Regions from separate parts of the Homo sapiens genome. Here regions 1 and 3 are each linked to region 2. Evidence: promoter capture Hi-C in human tissues and cell types (Jung and others, 2019). All regions are on one chromosome and are shown on one strand. The core of a region is centred on a gene start or on the middle of the fragment in contact, and the rest is flanking DNA. Distances in the headings are between cores, read along the strand shown.

Evidence for each region. Contacts are between HindIII fragments. The study calls those that stand out against the background at their distance.
Region 1: a fragment that was not itself captured here is called in contact with the fragment with the promoter of ITGBL1 in region 2 in 2 of the 25 tissues and cell types used here (hippocampus and pancreas).
Region 3: a contact is called between a fragment that was not itself captured here and the fragment with the promoter of ITGBL1 in region 2, in 3 of the 25 tissues and cell types used here (H1 embryonic stem cells, dorsolateral prefrontal cortex and hippocampus).

Annotation. Positions count from the first base shown.
Region 1 is chr13:101,356,891-101,359,590 of GRCh38, reverse strand. The region is part of intron 6 of NALCN (sodium leak channel, non-selective); the gene reads left to right. Among named protein-coding and RNA genes, the nearest start is that of NALCN, 58 kb to the left of the region's middle. The HindIII fragment of the contact is 6,642 bases long and covers 1-2,700 here.
Region 2 is chr13:101,451,378-101,454,077 of GRCh38, reverse strand. It overlaps ITGBL1 (integrin subunit beta like 1), which reads right to left and starts at 1,403. Exons shown (of 11, transcript NM_004791.3): 1 at 1,147-1,403; 2 at 1-195. The coding sequence starts at 1,244. RefSeq lists an enhancer at 1,321-1,825. The HindIII fragment of the contact is 7,410 bases long and covers 1-2,700 here.
Region 3 is chr13:101,338,875-101,341,574 of GRCh38, reverse strand. The region is part of intron 7 of NALCN (sodium leak channel, non-selective); the gene reads left to right. Among named protein-coding and RNA genes, the nearest start is that of NALCN, 76 kb to the left of the region's middle. The HindIII fragment of the contact is 5,110 bases long and covers 1-2,700 here.

The DNA.
Region 1 (2,700 bases), core at 41-2,540, 94 kb after region 2:
ATAATTAACTCTGTAGTGCGACAGTCTGTCAGAGAGCTCTTTAACCAAGTGAATCATAAACATTAACTGCACTAGGACAAATTTTTATGATGTGCTGATGCACACAGAAGGACGCAGCATCACTGCTGTGATATTGCCCCCTCAAAAGTACATTATAGTCTAAATTTAACCATAAAGAGACATCAGTTTTATGCGAAGCTCAAGATACACGTATCTTTCATGTTCTGTAATTTGTAATGTTGATTTTAAGTAGTCTTTAGCACCCTAGGGAGCAAGCATCTCCTAATAATTTTTTTCAGAACTTTCTGGGTAATAAATGCCATCCTGTTAAATAAGTATTTTCTACTTTTTTTCCTGCTTTGTATCCATTTATTCACTTGTTTGCTTTTTAAAAAATTTTTACTTTAAGTTGTGGGATACATGGGCAGAATGTGCAGGTTTGCTACCTAGGTATACATGTGCCATGGTGGTTTGCTGCACCTGTCAACCCATCATCTATGTTTTCAGCCCCGCATGCATTAGCTATTTGTCCTAATGCTCTCCCTCCCCCTGCCCCTCACCCCGCGACAGACCCCAGTATGTGTTGTATGTTCTCATTGTTCAACTCCCACTTATGAGTGAGAACATGCGCTGTTTGGTTTTCTGATCCTGTGTTACGTTTGCTGAAGGTGATGGCTTCCAGCTTCATCCATGTCCCTGCAAAGGATATGATCTCATTTCTTTTTATGGCTGCATAGTATTCCATGGTGTATATGTCCCACATTTTCTTAGTCCAGTCTATCCTTGATGGGTATTTGGGTGGTTCCGTGTCTTTGCTATTGTAAATAGTGTTGCAAGAAACATACGTGTACATGTATCTTTATAGTAGAATGATGTCTATTCTTTTGGGTGTATACCCAGTAATGGGATTGCTGTGTCAAATTTTATTTCTGGTTCTAGATCCTTGATGAATCATCACATTGTCTTCCACAGTGGTTGAACTAATTTACATTCCTACCAACAGTGTAAAAGCGTTCCTATTTCTCCACATCCTCGCCAGCATTTATTGTTTCTTGACTTTTTAATAATCGCCGTTCTGACTGGTGTGAAATGGTACTGCATTGTGGTTTTGGTTTGCATTTCCCTAGTGATCAGTGGTGTTGAGCTTTTTTTCATGTTTTTTGGCTGCATAAATATCTTCTTTTGAGAAGAGTCTGTTCATATCCTTTGTTCACTTTTTGATGGGGTTGTTTCTTTTTTTCTTGCAAATTTGTTTACATTTCTTATAGGTTGTGGATATTAGACCTTTGTCAGATGGGTAGATTGCAAAAATTTTCTCCTATTCTATTCTGTAGGTTGCCTGTTCACTCTGATGATAGTTTCTTTTGCTGTGCATAAGCTCTTTAGTACTTCTAGTTTAATTAGATCCCATTTGTCTGTTTTGGCTTTTCTTGCCATTGCTTTTAGCATTTTCATCATGAAATCACTGTCCATGTCTATGTCCTGAATAGTATTGCCTAAGTTTTCTTCTAGGGTTTTTATGGTTATGGGTTTAACATTTAAGTCTTTAATCCATCTCGATTTAATTTTTGTCTAAGGTATAAGGGGTCCAGTTTTAGTTTTCTGCACATGGCTAGCAAGTTTTCTCAGCACCATTTATTAAATAGGGAATCCTTTCCCCACTGCTTGTTTTTGTCAGGTTTGTCAAAGATCAGATGGTTGTAGATGCGTGATGTGATTTCTGAGGTCTCTGTTCTGTTCCATTGGTCTATATGGCTGTTTTGGTACCAGTGCCATGCTGTTTTGGTTACTCTAGCCTTGTAGTATAGTTTGAAGTCAGGTAGCATGATGCCTCCAGCTTTGTTCTTTTTCCTAAGGATTGTCTTGGTTATACAGGCTCTTTTTTGGTTCCATATGAAATTTAGGGTAGTTTTTTTCTAATTCTGTGAAGAATGTCAATGGTAGTTTGATGGGAATAGCATTGAATCTATAATTTATTTTGGGCAGTATGGCCATTTTCATGATATTGATTCTTCCTATCCATGAGGATGGAATGTTTTTCCATTTGTTTGTGTCGTCTCTTATTTCCTTGAGCAGTGATTTGTAGTTCTCCTTGAAGAGGTCCTTCACGTCCTTTGTAAGTTGTATTCCTAAGTATTTTATTCTCTTTGTAGCAATTGTGAATGGGAGTTCATTCATGATTTGGCTCTCTGCTTGTGTATTTTTGGTGTATAGGAATACTTGTGATTTTTGCACATCCATTTTGTATCCTGAGATTTGCTGAAGTTGCTTATCAGGTTAAGGAGTTTTCGGGCTGAGATGATGGGGTTTTCTAACTATAGAATCACGACATCTGGAAACAGAAAATTTCACTTCCTCTCTTCCTATTTAAATACCCTTTATTTCTTTCTCTTGACTGATTGCTCTGGCCAGAACATCCAATACTATGTTGAATAGGAGTGGTGAGAGAGGGCATCCTTGTCTTGTGCCAGTTTTCAAAAAGAATGCTTCCAGCTTTTTCCCATTCAGTATGATACTGGCTGTGGGTTTGTCACAAATAGCACTTATTATTTTGAGATATGTTCCATCAATACCTAGTTTATTGAAAGCTTTTAACATGAAGAGTTGTTGAATTTTATCAAAGGCCTTTTCTGCATCTATTGAGAATCATGTGGCTTTTGTCTCTGGTTCTGTTTATGTGATGAATTACGTTTATTGATT
Region 2 (2,700 bases), core at 154-2,653:
GTCTCGCACACCCACTCATGGCACTCACACAGGGGCCCGAAGAACATGCCCGGCTCAGTCACGTGGCAGATGCAGACGCCGCAGTCGCAGCGGCCCCGGCCGTGGCACAGCGCGGCCCCCGGGGGCTGCCCAGGTGCGCGGCAGCGTCGCTCCGACTCGGCCCGGGACAGCCTGCAGGCGGCGCCCGGCCAGCTCCTGCGCGGGCGACAAGCAACCGGCAGGCCGGGTCAGACGCGGACGCCGCCCCCTGCTCCGAACCCACGTTTCCTCCCCAGTGTCCCCTCCAGGTGCAGACGTACAACCCCAAGAACAGGACGCCTGAGGCCCACATCTCTCTGGGGTCCAAGCGCTGCCTGGAAGGGCTGTATTTTCCCAAGCAAACAGGTATCACCCACCAGAGAAATGACCAGGGCCCAAAATGTGTAATGGGTGACCTGCCCCCGGACACAGGTCCTTCCTCCAGGTGGACAGAGGTGAACTGCCCTGCTCTTTGGTAGTTTATCACTAAATCTTATATGCACATTTAGATTAAATACAAAGTAATCCAAGGTACGGCACTCAGCTGACTTTTCAGTTCTCCTTTAAAAAACGTCCCACTGCTATCTGATGGCCAATGGGCACTTATATTACAGAAGAGAAAACGTGAATCTATAGAAAGAGTTAGACATGCTATGATAGCATCGGGCATAATTTGCATTAAGCAGTCTTTAGGAACTCTACTTTTAAAAAGTTTAGTTTCACTATTGCAGTGTGCCTCACTCAGTCTCTTTCAGGATGATACAAAATGTAACACAGACCTCCTGTTGCTGCCCTTGGGAAACAGATCATTCTGCTTTACATGTTGTGAGAAGATACTGGTACACATAGCATTTTAACTCACAGCAGGAATTCCTCCTGATATGTATTTGCAGAAAAGAAAATTATATTTTTATTCAATGATTGCATTTTTCCAAAGGAAAAGCAAAAGGACAGACATGAGGCAATACACGCTGTAGATATAAGGAGAGGAAAAGGAACAGGTTGAAAACAGTTTATCCCTTGTCCAATTTAATAACAGCTCTTGGCTTAGGGCAGCCATCCTGCAAGCTTGAGCCCTGCCACATAAGCAGGGCAGGTCTGTACTGAAGAATAACAAACCAAACTTACCTCAGAGATGGCGAGAAGCTTTGAGGAACAGCTGACAACCCAGCAAAGAGAAGGGAGGACGCCAGCAGCAAGAAGTTCCTGAAGCCTGGGGGACGCATGCTGAGCTCCTGGGCTGCTCCGGGCGAGCTGCACTTCTGCAAGGTGGGGTTCACCGAGGGAGGCGGCAGGAGGGAGAGGTGCCACCAGCAGATGGCTGGGCAGACGGACCCACGGACACCCAGGCTTGCAGGTCCGGGGCTCCAGCCGGAGTTGCAATTGCGTTGATGAGCTGCCTGCGAGGATTTGGGCAGCGGCACTGCTCTGGGCGGGGTGCTGGTGCCAAACCCCTCAGTGGAGAGTCTAGGCAGGGAAGTAATTAGAAACAGTTGTACAAGCAGATGGTTTATTTTGACATTAAAAAAAAAAAAAGTGTCCTGTTCACAGATTTCAAGTACGGGCCACAGAAATATTTGACAAGAGAATATTTGGACTGGCCGATATTAAAGAAACCTTTAAAATAATCCCTGAGTTGTGGAGAAGGGTGAGGCCAGTGACAGTAGTGGGAACACTTGGGTAGGGAATTACTTTCACCACACGCTTTTAAAGTAGATGCACTCTTTGGAGTTTGGGTTGGGGCCGGGGCAAGGAAATCTGACAAACACAACTTTTTCTTGCATTTATTATCCTTTGATTTAAACTGGATATTTCATTTCTTTAGTCTTTAAAAAGCGTGTCATGCTTCCAGCTGTTTAGGCCAGTAGCTTATCACACCACAATTTGTTGGTGACTTGGACAGTTTAAATTGTAGTTGTCTCAAATTCACCCCATTCTCCCCATATATCAAATGTGAGAAAAGAAAATTAAATGTTTATTTATAGCACAAATTGCACTGAAAAACAATTGGTGTCATTTACTAAGCACCTACTATGTGCCAGTCATTTAGTATGTTTTCTCTAATTATGACAATAATCACACATTTATTTATGCATTAGCAAATGGGGATTTAGCATCTATCAGGTGCCAGGTTTTGTGCAAGACAGAATGAATATAACAGAGAACTAAGGAGACATGATCCCTGCTCTCTCAGAGTCCAATGAGCTAGAAAGACATTAATCAACACAAAACCACAAAAAAAAAGAACAAAGGGTTGCAAGTGCAGTGAGAAGTTACTTCCAGATGAGATACAGGCACTTGATCTAATCAAAGATGGTAGCATCTGAACAAAAAACTGAAAAAAGTATTGAATTAAATTGGGTAGAAATAAGAAGGAGATGGAAGAGAACAGGGAGACATTCTTACTCCCATTTTAAAGATAAAGAAACTGAGGGCAAAGAGGTCAACTGACTTGCTCAAATTCACAGAGGAAGTTAGTCGTATTTCAGCTGAAATCCAAAGTGCATACACTATCCCCTACATTTATGGTCATCTGGGAAAATGTGTAGAGGGTTATATGGAAGGGGGAAAACATTTTTCATTCACCCTAAGAAGAGCACTGTACATGCAATCCTTCCTCATGAAATAGAACCATCCAAGAATCATCTGTGGTCCCAGATCCTTAAAATCAGGGATGAGCCA
Region 3 (2,700 bases), core at 57-2,556, 110 kb after region 2:
GCTTAGTAGGAAACAGAGCACTGAATTACAGATTCGAAGGATGCAGCTTTTCTCAGTAAGTGAACATAGAACAGTCAACACTGAGACACATCTTAGTAAAATTGTTGGAAATCAAAGCTAAAGAAAACATTCATTAGGCATCCAGAAAAAATAAGGTCAAGTTAGCTATAAGGAGGTACATCAGAGAGGCCTGAAACTTCATGTCAATATGGAACTCTAGAATGTAATGGCACAATGCTTACAAATTCTTTAGGGAAAGAATGGGTCAAGCTCTTTCTGAATATTTTTGAAGAGGCAGGAACATAGAGACTATATTTTGCATGAAATCTTCTTGAAAACATTCAGTCAATCAAGAATTTCTTATCATGAGCTAGTCTCTAGTATCTATTTGTTTTAAGAACAAAGCTAATGTAACTGTAGGATTTACAAAATACAATGTAAATATTATAAATTATGAATATCTAGAAGAGATAAGATGAAAACCGGGGGAGATAGTGTGATTATGTTGATATTCTTAACATTCACATTTTAGCAGTTAAAAAAGTAACATTTATACAATATATGAAATGTATAATAGAGATATGTGCATACTTGTCATGAGATGAGAATGCATGATAAACTCAGAAATTACTTTCTTTAGAAATAACTCAAAAATCCAAATAATATTATCTATGACCACGTCCCAAAAAATCATTTCAATATGAGTAATAATATTGGAATCAATTCTTTCTAAATCTTGATAATAGTTCTCAAAAGAAAAGTAACAAACAGTATATTTTTTAACCTCTGAATAGAGTTATGCTATTTGCTGTAGCATGTTTAAAATTATTAGGGGCACATGACTCCTTTGTGGTAAAGTTTGCTTGAAGCACAGTTGTTCAAAAGAATGGCCCTGGGGTTTAGATCATGACTCCACTTTATATTAGTGTGACAGCCTTAGGAAAGTAATTAACTCTCTTGCCTCAATTTCCCCATCTAGGAAATGGGGTAAGTGATAGACCTACCTTATACAGTTAATGTAAAGAGCAACTGAGAAACTACACTTAGAGTACGTGTAGCGTAGAACAAACGCAGAATGAACTAGAAATTGGGATGCACGGGCAAAATATGAATGTATCTCTGTGTTATTTGAGGGAAAATGGTGTAATAATAAGGGAGGGCAGGACATAGATATTTTCACACTCACACACTGCATCTGATATGATTCCCTTTGTTTACAGACATTAACTATGCAGGTTTTCCAGTATCTTATTCAAGGGAGAGGCATTGGGGCAGGGGCACGGTGTTTTTTGTTTGTTTGTTTGTTTGAGATGGAGTCTCGGTCTGTCGCCCAAGCTGGAGTGCAGTGGCACAATTTTGGCTCACTGCAAACTTTGCCTCCTGGGTTCAAGCAATTCTCCTGCCTCTGCCTCCCAGTTAGCTGGGACTACAGGCGCCCATCACCATGCCTGGCTAATTTTTTTGTATTTTTAGTAGAGACGGAGTTTCACCGTGTTAGCCAGGAGGGTCTCGATCTCCTGACCTCGTGATCCACCCGCCTCGGCCTCCAAAAGTGCTGGGATTACAGGCGTGAGCCACTGTACCCGCCGGGGCACGGTGTTCTTAACCTTGCATCTTGCCTATGTTAACTCATATCTCCCATTTCATTTTATTCCAATCAATGACTAGCATTCTAGAAGGCAAGTTTTTGGTGATGTTTGGTCTTTATTCATCAATTATTCCCCTCCCCTCTCACAAATGTCCTGACTTCTGTGCTTGTACCAATCTCTCTAGAATCTGATCAACATTTAGCCCGTGTCATTGAATTTTCTAGTTTGATGAAGCATCATGCATATGTTTAATTTTATTTATTTATCCATATACATTCGAATCTGTGACCCCTGGATTGGAGCCTCTCCCTTTCAGCGCCTTTCAACAGGTGCTCCTTCCACAGAGCCTAAGTAAAGCACCAGCTGGGGCATTGAGCAGAAGGCACAGCCATGCTGTGATGTGCAGGGGCTCCAGCACTAAGTGATTTATTTTCCGACCTCCTCTAATTCCCTGAGCCACGTGACAACTGAGATACTAGTTATTTCTGTCTCTTTCTTCCATTTATGCACCTTTCCATCTTTATTTCTGGATAGCTTTCCTGTGGCTCCTTCCTAAGGACCCCCAACTGACTCATCCCTGCTAAGACATTAGCCCGTGCACTCAAGATATCACACACTCCCCATGTTGCAAGCTTCCTGAGTAGTAGACATAATCTAAAGGACATCTTGCAAAATCGCAAAATTTATTTAGCAGACATTGAGATTCCGTGATTGCAGTATGGGTGGCAAGGTGGGTAGGAATCATACAGTGGTAAGGTTTGGGGATTGACAACATCCTAAAAGCCACACTGTCGAAGTGACACAAAATCACAGCAACTTACCCTATTTAGAAAATGTGTCTTCCCTTTTCTGAATACTTACCCCACTTTCAGTTCCTACTTCCGCTGTTCCCACTTGCTCATAAACATATGAGACATAAAAGCTGAGACATAAAAGAGGCGACACTGTGATTTTCTGTAATAACACTGGAAATGAAATTACAGAAGTTTAGAGCTGGAACAGATAATGCAGTCATACATTTTACCCACACAGGTGGGGATCTGAGAGTCAGAGTGAGTGGGATTAGAATTACAGAGAACTCCGGGCAGAGGCAGGCTGAACTCACTTCTCC